3 separate regions of the Homo sapiens genome follow, and all the other regions are linked to region 1. Evidence: promoter capture Hi-C in 16 types of primary human blood cells and fetal thymus (Javierre and others, 2016). All regions are on one chromosome and are shown on one strand. Each heading gives the region's core, a stretch centred on a gene start or on the middle of the fragment in contact. The rest is flanking DNA. Distances are from core to core; before and after follow the strand shown. Region 1 holds the start of COA5 (cytochrome c oxidase assembly factor 5). Region 2 overlaps TSGA10 (testis specific 10). Region 3 overlaps TSGA10 (testis specific 10).

Region 1 (2,700 bases), core at 9-2,508:
TACCAGGAGCTGGCTGAACGGCAGCACCAGTGAGTAAGGGGCAGAAGGGACACAGCCCTGGACAGGGGAGCCTGAAAACAACGGTACTTCAGTTTCCTCATTTATATAAGGAAGTTGGGCGAGATAATCTCTTAAATTTATAATAACTCAAGTTTTACTAGACATTGGGAGGCGAGAATGGCTGACTGCTAAAATCAGTGAACCAAACAAATTGTGACTCGGTAGAAACACTGGTACAGTCTTACAGTGGATGTCCATTTGGGGGTAATCTTTTCTCTGAAATAACAGCAACTTTCTGAAACTACATCCCCCAATGCAAAGACAATTGCACACAATTGAATGCCCTCTCGTCGGGCCTCTGCAATTGGAAAAGGCACTTGTGCTTTACTTGAGCTCTAATCCAGAACTCAGGTCCACTGTGAACCTCACTACATGTTTCAGTGCATTCCAAGAGGGTGCTGAGGAGACCTGTGTCTGTAGCCGGGGAGTGAAGGAAGAGTGTAGGGGAAGCAAGATACGAAATCGTGAAAATATGGAGTTGCCTTATTTTTACAACTTAACATCCAAGAATGCAGAGAACTGTAACTCAGAAACAAATTCACATCAACACAAGTCAAACTGAGCACACATTGTCACAACTGAACAGGCAGGAGACACTACTGGCCAGGGCAGTGTACCAGGTTTACGCAACTCTCTGGAATCATTAATTCTACAGATTATCATTTCTAGGCAGGCAAGAAACCTGGCTTATTCTCCTTTATGTCTCCAAAGCCTAGTAGAGTGCTAGCATTCAATAAAGGCTTCGTGAACTGAAATGGGTTAACCTTTACAAAAACCCGACAGGGTGCGTTTATCGTTATCTCCGATTTAACCCCACAGGGAACTGGGGCTCCGACAGCTCAGTGGATCTGCGCACGTTCAGTGAGCCCGAGCTGTGACCTACGCCCGGGATGGTTAACTCCAACCGCCGCCGCGGGCGACCCGCTGCCCTCCGCCGAGCCAGGCCTGCCTGGGACAGGGGTCGTCACCACCGGGAGCGCCCGGCCGCGCTACCTGGACCACACAGTCCGACTGCAGCAGACACGCGCCCAGGTCCTCCTTCAGGCCCGCGCACGCGCCGCCCTGCGGCTTGTCCTCATAATACTTAGGCATGACGGCGCTTCCCCTCCGATGCGGACGCGACTTTCTCCCACCGCAACACTTGCAACCGGGTCGGGAGCGAGCGAGGCCCCAGTCTCAGGGGACCGGAAGCCAGCGGCAACAACTTCCGGCGGGCCGCGGCGGTAGGGCCGAGGACTACGGGGGCCGAGAGGTGGCGCGTCCGCGGCGGAAGTCGGTTCCCGTGACGCGGCGCGCCCCAAGGGCCGGCTCCGTTGAGGGAAGGGAAGCCCGCCCGGTGGCGGCTGGGGTCGGCTGCTGGGAGGAGGTGGTGGGCTGGTTCGGACGTGGGTCGAGGCTGTAGCAGGACTCCAGGTGAGGCCTGAGGACCACTCTGCCCTCCCGCGGCCCGGGCTCGCGCCGGGGGCCATTTAATCCCGACAGCTTGCGGCCTGACGTCGCTGCGGCCTGGCAGTGACCATGTCGGCGTCCGGCCCCTCGGCCGGCGATAGAGTTGCGGCTAAAATGAAAGGACGCCCAGTTACATTTGCATCGTAGATAAAGAAAGAGCATTTAGTATAAGCATGTCCGAAATGTTGCGTGGGATGTAGGCATACTAAAACCTTATTCGTGGCCTGTCTGAAATCCAAATGGAGCTGGGTATTCTGTGTTTTTATTTGCTAAATCTGGCAGCCGTACCCGCGGCCCCGGGCAGGGAGGGAGCAGCTGGGCTCGGCCAGACCCTGCCGGCGTCTGGGGGGCCTGCGAAGTGGAGGGGAGACGGGCAGCCGGGCAGTGGCCGGCGTTCCCCGGAGCTCGGACCGGTTGGATTGGACTCCGACGCTACCGCTCCCTCTGCTGAACTATTCCGGATGTAAAACACTAGGGATCGGAGTTTTTCTTGGTTTTTTAATCTCATTCTAGTGACCGAGAAGCTTGCTGGCAGTGCGCTGATGGATCTGTGTGAATAGGCCATTTATTTGACCTCTTCAGTAACACTGTTCTAACCGGCTGAAACTGCTTTCTTAGGCATTTTCTTAAAAGCTTGGTGGTTAAGAGCACGGAATTTCGAGTCAGATTTCCAATCTTGGCTCTATCACTATCCTCGGAGTCATGGGGCAGTCACATCATCCCTGTCTCTGTAATGGTAGCTGCCCCTGGATAAGTGTTATTAGGTGATTCAGAAGGGTGGGCTGTTGCCCTTGCCTGAGGTTGCAGTCTGCGGTTCCCAAGCCCCAAGACCCGCCTCAGAACTAACTGCATTTGCTTTTGACTCCTGGCCTTTCTCTAGGGTTGGGAAGAACATGGAAAGTGACCTCCCTGCCAAATAACTCAGAAGAGGAGTGTCGGTAGCCAAATGTTTCTTCAGAATACGTGTAAAAGAAATGTTTTTCTTCCATCTAGGAAGATGTTACCGAGTACTTCAGTGAATTCCTTAGTGCAGGGGAACGGAGTCTTGAATTCCAGGGATGCGGCAAGACACACAGCCGGAGCGAAACGCTACAAATATCTGAGAAGGCTTTTCCGCTTTCGGCAAATGGACTTTGAATTTGCTGCCTGGCAGATGCTCTACCTGTTCACATCCCCACAGAGAGTTTACAG
Region 2 (2,709 bases), core at 159-2,658, 450 kb after region 1:
TCCACAGTTACAGAGGAAGATTTTAACATGTCTTTCAGTATTTGAGAGATCAAGAATACAAATATAGTAAGGATTTATAAGACTTGACTGACACTATTAACAAGCCTAATCTGTAAATATATATAACATACATATATGTGTCCACCAAGAAGTGAGCACAGATGCTTTTCAAGGTCATGTAGAATATTATCAAATATTGATTACATAATCTGCCACTAAGCAATTCTTAGCAGATAACAAAGAATTAATTATCATAAGCCATTTTATCTGATCACAATATTAGAAACATTAGACAATAAGATATTAGACACAACAAAGTAAAAATAGACTAATAACCTCAAGTCCCCTGCACATTGGAAAGTTTTTTAAAACTTCAGGTCAAGTGTGGTGGCTCATGCCTCTAATCCTAGCACTTTGGGAGGTTGAGGTGGGAGGATCACTTGAGGCCAGGAGATCAAGACCAGCTTGGGCAATATAGTAAGACTCCATTGCTACAAAAATATTAAAAATTAGCTGGGTGTGGTGACTCACACTTGTAGTGTTAGCCACTTGGAGGCTGAGACAGATGGATCACCTGTGCCCAGGAATTGGAGGCTGCGGTGAGCTATGATTGTACCACTGCACTCCAGCCTAGGAACAGAGTGAGACTCTGTCTCAAACAAACAGACAAACAAACTTTAGTAATTAAAAATAAATCATAATGAAACGAGATGATATTAAAAACTGAATGGCAATGAAAGGATTATCTCAAAACTTGTGGGCTGCAGGTGGCTGCACCCAAAAAAATAGAAATTTCCAGTCTTCAATGCATAGAAAAGAAATAAAATCATGAAATCTGATACATTTATTCTAAAATTCATCTGAGACAGGTTAATAAGGACCAAGTACAGTCCAGATAATTTGAGGGAACATTAATTCTTCCAGATATCAAGACTCAACATAAAATTATAATAGCTACAAGAGTGTGTTATTGACAAGGGGATAAATTGACCAATGGAGCAGAATGTATGGGAACTTATTTTTATGACAAAGTAGACTTGACTTATATTTCAGAGAAGAAAGGACAACGGATATCTATTCACAAAAATAAAAATTATATGTCTACTTCGAACTGCACAAAATCAATCTCAAGCAGGTTAAAGTCCTAAATGTAAATGGCAAAATTTCACATACTTTCAAACATTTAGAAGAACTTTTAAATGAAAATATAGGAAAATATCTCTCTGGCCTTGGGATTGTATAGGATTTCTTAAAGAAGACATAAAAGTATAAACTATATAGGAAAATATTGATAATAATTCTGAGTATATCAGAACTGAACATGTCTGTTTATACTGCAAGGAAGGTGAAAAGACAAGCCACAGACAAGGACAATATAATTGTAATATCTTTAAGAGGATTATTATCAAGAATACATAGAGAATTCCGTTAAAAATCAATATGAAGGCAGGGTGTGGTGGCTCAGGCCTGTGATCCCAGCACTTTGGGAGGGCAAGGTGGGTGGATCATGAGGTCAAGAGATCGAGAACAGCCTGGCCAACATGGTGAAACCCCATCTCTACTAAATACAAAAAAAAAACTAGTTGGCCAGGGTGGTGCGCACCTGTAGTCCCAGCTACTTGGGAGGTTGAGGCAGGAGAATCACTTGAATCTGGAAAGCGGAGGTTGCAGTGAGCCAAGATCACGCCACTGCACTCCAGCCTGGCGACAGAGCGAGACTCCATCTCAAAAAAATATATATATATGAAAAAGATAAGCTATGCAATAGAAAAATGGCCAAAGTTTACAAAAATTTCATTCAAGAGAAATTCAAGAAAATGTTCATAGAGGAAGAATCCTAAATGGCAAAGAAACATGAAAAGGTCCTCAATTTCACTTGCAATCAAGGAAGCACAAGACAAAAAGTATGGAAAAAATTGTCTGACAATATCAAGTATTGATTCACATTTGAGAAAATAACTCAGGATTTCTTATGGCAGAATGACACTTTAGAGAGCAATTTGACAAAAACTTAGAAGAGCTGAAATTGCACATATCTTGGATCTACTCCAGGCATATAGCTTTTTAAAATTCACTTCCAGGCATAAATATAGGGAAACATGTAGTCAAGGAGAAATGTAAAAGGTTTGTTGCAGTGTTTTATCACAGAAAAAAGTGAAAAAAAATTAACTTTCCTTCAATATGGGAATGAATTTTAAAAAGGGAATATTTATACAATGAATATATGCAACTGTTTGAGTAAAGCAGTACACTATATATATATCAAAATAGATGTGTCAAAATTATAATATTGAGCAAAGAGGGCAAGTTGCAAATGAATATCTCCAACTATGTTTGTTTTCACTTAAATAAAAACCAAAACATACCAAATAACATTATACATTATTTGTGGGTGTAAGATTGTAGAAAAAGTATAAACATATGCAAAGGAGTTAGACACACTGACAGGAAAGTTATGCACACCAGCAACTAGGGAGGTAGGAGGGAAAAGGATGAGAGAAGTTTTATCTGTAATGTTTTATTTCTTTAAACAAGGAGACATTTGAAGCAAACATGGCAAAATGTTAGTATCCTTACATGTGGGAGCTGGGGATATGTTTATCTGTTTTGTTACTTTTGCACTTTTATGGTATGTTTGAAATAGTTTCTAATTTTAACAAATGCTAATGATTGTTCTGGATGTAGGGTAGATAAGAGATTGTAGAAGAA
Region 3 (2,700 bases), core at 99-2,598, 470 kb after region 1:
CTAACCTTGTTTTTTACTAACTCTATTTTTAAATTTTCCCTTTTTGTCTCCTTAACTACCTAGCCTTGTTTCCCATATAAATAAGACTCTCCCTTAGCTGGGAAAGCCGGACAAACTCCATTTGGCCCCTTGATTTACAAGACATTAAGGGCTCCTTACCCGACCCCCTTCCTCAAGGAGTTAACCTGTGTAAGCAGACCCTCAGCATTTCAAAGGAGCCAAATTAACTGATAAGGTACTGGAACAAACAATGTGTGAAGTTCCCAGGATTTTGCTCAAAAAGATAACAACATAAAGCCTTGAGTCTGTGTCCAGCATAGCATCCATATCTAACAAAGGATTTAGAGCCCCGCACCTGGTTCCGTTGCTTTTTTTTGTAACCATTTGCCTTTTAAATTGTTAATCTCTCTGTAACCATTTGTTTTTTTGATTCTTGCATGTTTTTACTTCTGTAGAATTATTGCATTTGAGCTCCCCTCCCCTTCCTAAACTAAGGTATAAAGTTAATCAAGCCCCTTCCTCGAGGCTGAGAGAATTTTGAGCGTTAGCCGTCTCTTTGGCCGCCGGCTTAATAAAGGACTCTTAATTCGTCTCAAAGTGTGGCGTTTTCTCTAACTCGCTTGGGTATAACACAACAAAGAGTCTTAATCTCAATCTAAGCATCAAAATAAAATTTGGTTCCCGATTGGTCATATAATCAGGAACCCCTTGCAAAACTCTGGAGGCATGCTCTCAACCCAAGCACAGAACTAACCCCAGACAAAGGCCTATGGAAAAGGATCTCATAATTCAAAATTTAAAAATACATCAAGAAACAATCCAACCTTAGTGGGAGTCAAAAGACACACAAACTAAATTAGATCCCTAAGAACTTCAGACTACAGCACTATCAAATAGAAACTTAGAAATACATGTGTTTAAATACAAACACATAAAATAATAGGATATATAAAGAAAAAAATAATCAACAAATTTGGAAAAGAACCAAATAGAACTTCACAAAATTAAACTAACATCAAAATTTTAAAGATTACAAAACTCAGTGGACAAGTTAAAAATACAGAATAGACACTGTGAAAGAGATAACTGGTAAACTGGGGAAAAAAACAGATCAGAGGTCCTATATTAGAGCACAAATAAAACAATGAAAAAATACAAAATAGAGGTTAACAGACATAAAAGACAGAATAAGAAGGTCCAATATTTACCAAATCAAAATCCCAGTAGGGAAGAATAAAGACAATATTCAACAAAATAATACCTAATAAAAGATGAAATCCAAGACTAAAGAGGTATTAACCTGTATCTATTAAGACAATTATAAATGGGGGAGGATAAAAGGACTTAAAAGGAGACAAGATTTCTATACTTTATGCAAACTGATAAAATGTGACACCAGTGGATCGTGATAAGTAAGTACAATTCACAGAGCAACCACTGAAAAATCTATAGACACTCAAAAATACTACAGATATCAAAAATGGGATTCTAAAAAATGTCAAGTAATCCATGAAAAGGCAGGAAAACAAAAACAGAGACATGAGAAACAGAGGAAAGAAACAAACGAAAAACACCCCCAAAAAATAACATGGAGAATTGAGCCCTACCAATAATTATATTAAATGCATATGGTCTACCTTATTTTTAACAGCCAAAACCTGGAAAAAATCAAAATGTCCCTCACCAGGTGAATAGCTGAACAAATTATGGTACATTCATACTATGGAATGTTACTCAGCAATATTAAAAAGTAGCAAAATTTAATACTTGGCTGGATCTCAATGGCATTATTCTGAGTTTTCAAGCGAATCTTGAAAATCATGGCTGTATGACTCTTCCTATAACATTCTTGAAATGACAAAATTACAGAGTTGGACAACAGATTAGTGTCAGATATTAGGGATCATGGTGGGGGAAGAGGAGATGTGACTGTAAAGGAGTAGCATGAGGGATATTTTTGCGGTAATAGACTTTCCGTGTCTTGAATGTGGTAGTAGTTACATGAAACTACATATGTGATAAAATGACAGAACTATGCACACACATTGTACCAATGTCAATTTTCTGGCTTTGATATTGTACTATAGTGATATAAAATGTAATCATTGTGGGAAAGTGGGTGACGGGAATACATCGACTTATCTGTATATTTTTGTAACTTCCTACAAATTATGAAATTATTTTAAAGCAGCAAAACAAAAAAAAGTCCTAGAGTTAGGCTGCACAATTATGCCAATTAAATTAAAATCTCTGGGAATGAGAATTAACATCACTATTGTTTTTTAAAGCTCCTCATTTGATTCTAATATGCAGCCAAGGCTGTTAAGGAATGCATCTGATATGGTTTGGATGTTTGTCCGCTACAAATCTCATGTTGAAATGTGATTTCCAATGTTGGAAGTGGGGCCTGGGGAAGAGATGACTGGATCACGGGGGCAGGTCCCTCATGAATGGTTTAACACTATCCCCTTGGTGATAAGTGAGATCTCGCTAGTTAGTTCACATGAGATCTGGCTGTTCAAAGAAATCTGGGACCTCCCCTTTTCTCTTGCTCCTGCCCTTGTCATGTGATGCACTGGCTCCCCCTTTGCTTTCCACCAAGATGGCAAGCTGTCTCGTGCCCTCACCAGAAGCAAATGCCAGCACCATGCTTCCTGTACAGCCTGCAGAACCATAAGCTAAAATAAATTTCCTTTCTTT

The links. Contacts are between HindIII fragments. The CHiCAGO score rates a contact against its expected background, and 5 or more counts as called.
Region 2: a fragment that was not itself captured here is called in contact with the fragment with the promoter of COA5 in region 1 in 10 of 17 cell types (erythroblasts, non-activated CD4 T cells, M2 macrophages and 7 more); the score reaches 8.7 in erythroblasts.
Region 3: a fragment that was not itself captured here is called in contact with the fragment with the promoter of COA5 in region 1 in 1 of 17 cell types (megakaryocytes); the score reaches 5.1 in megakaryocytes.

Annotation. Positions count from the first base shown.
Region 1 is chr2:98,607,254-98,609,953 of GRCh38, forward strand. It overlaps COA5 (cytochrome c oxidase assembly factor 5), which reads right to left and starts at 1,259. Exons shown (of 3, transcript NM_001008215.3): 1 at 1,054-1,259. The coding sequence starts at 1,152. UNC50 (unc-50 inner nuclear membrane RNA binding protein) reads left to right here and starts at 1,336. Exons shown (of 6, transcript NM_014044.7): 1 at 1,336-1,473; 2 at 2,503-2,700. The coding sequence starts at 2,507. RefSeq lists an enhancer at 411-1,400 and a silencer at 1,464-1,563. The HindIII fragment of the contact is 2,113 bases long and covers 1-2,031 here.
Region 2 is chr2:99,062,078-99,064,786 of GRCh38, forward strand. The region is part of intron 16 of TSGA10 (testis specific 10); the gene reads right to left. Among named protein-coding and RNA genes, the nearest start is that of C2orf15, 78 kb to the right of the region's middle. The HindIII fragment of the contact is 7,108 bases long and covers 1-2,709 here.
Region 3 is chr2:99,081,901-99,084,600 of GRCh38, forward strand. The region is part of intron 10 of TSGA10 (testis specific 10); the gene reads right to left. Among named protein-coding and RNA genes, the nearest start is that of C2orf15, 58 kb to the right of the region's middle. RefSeq lists an enhancer at 1-657. The HindIII fragment of the contact is 6,735 bases long and covers 1-2,700 here.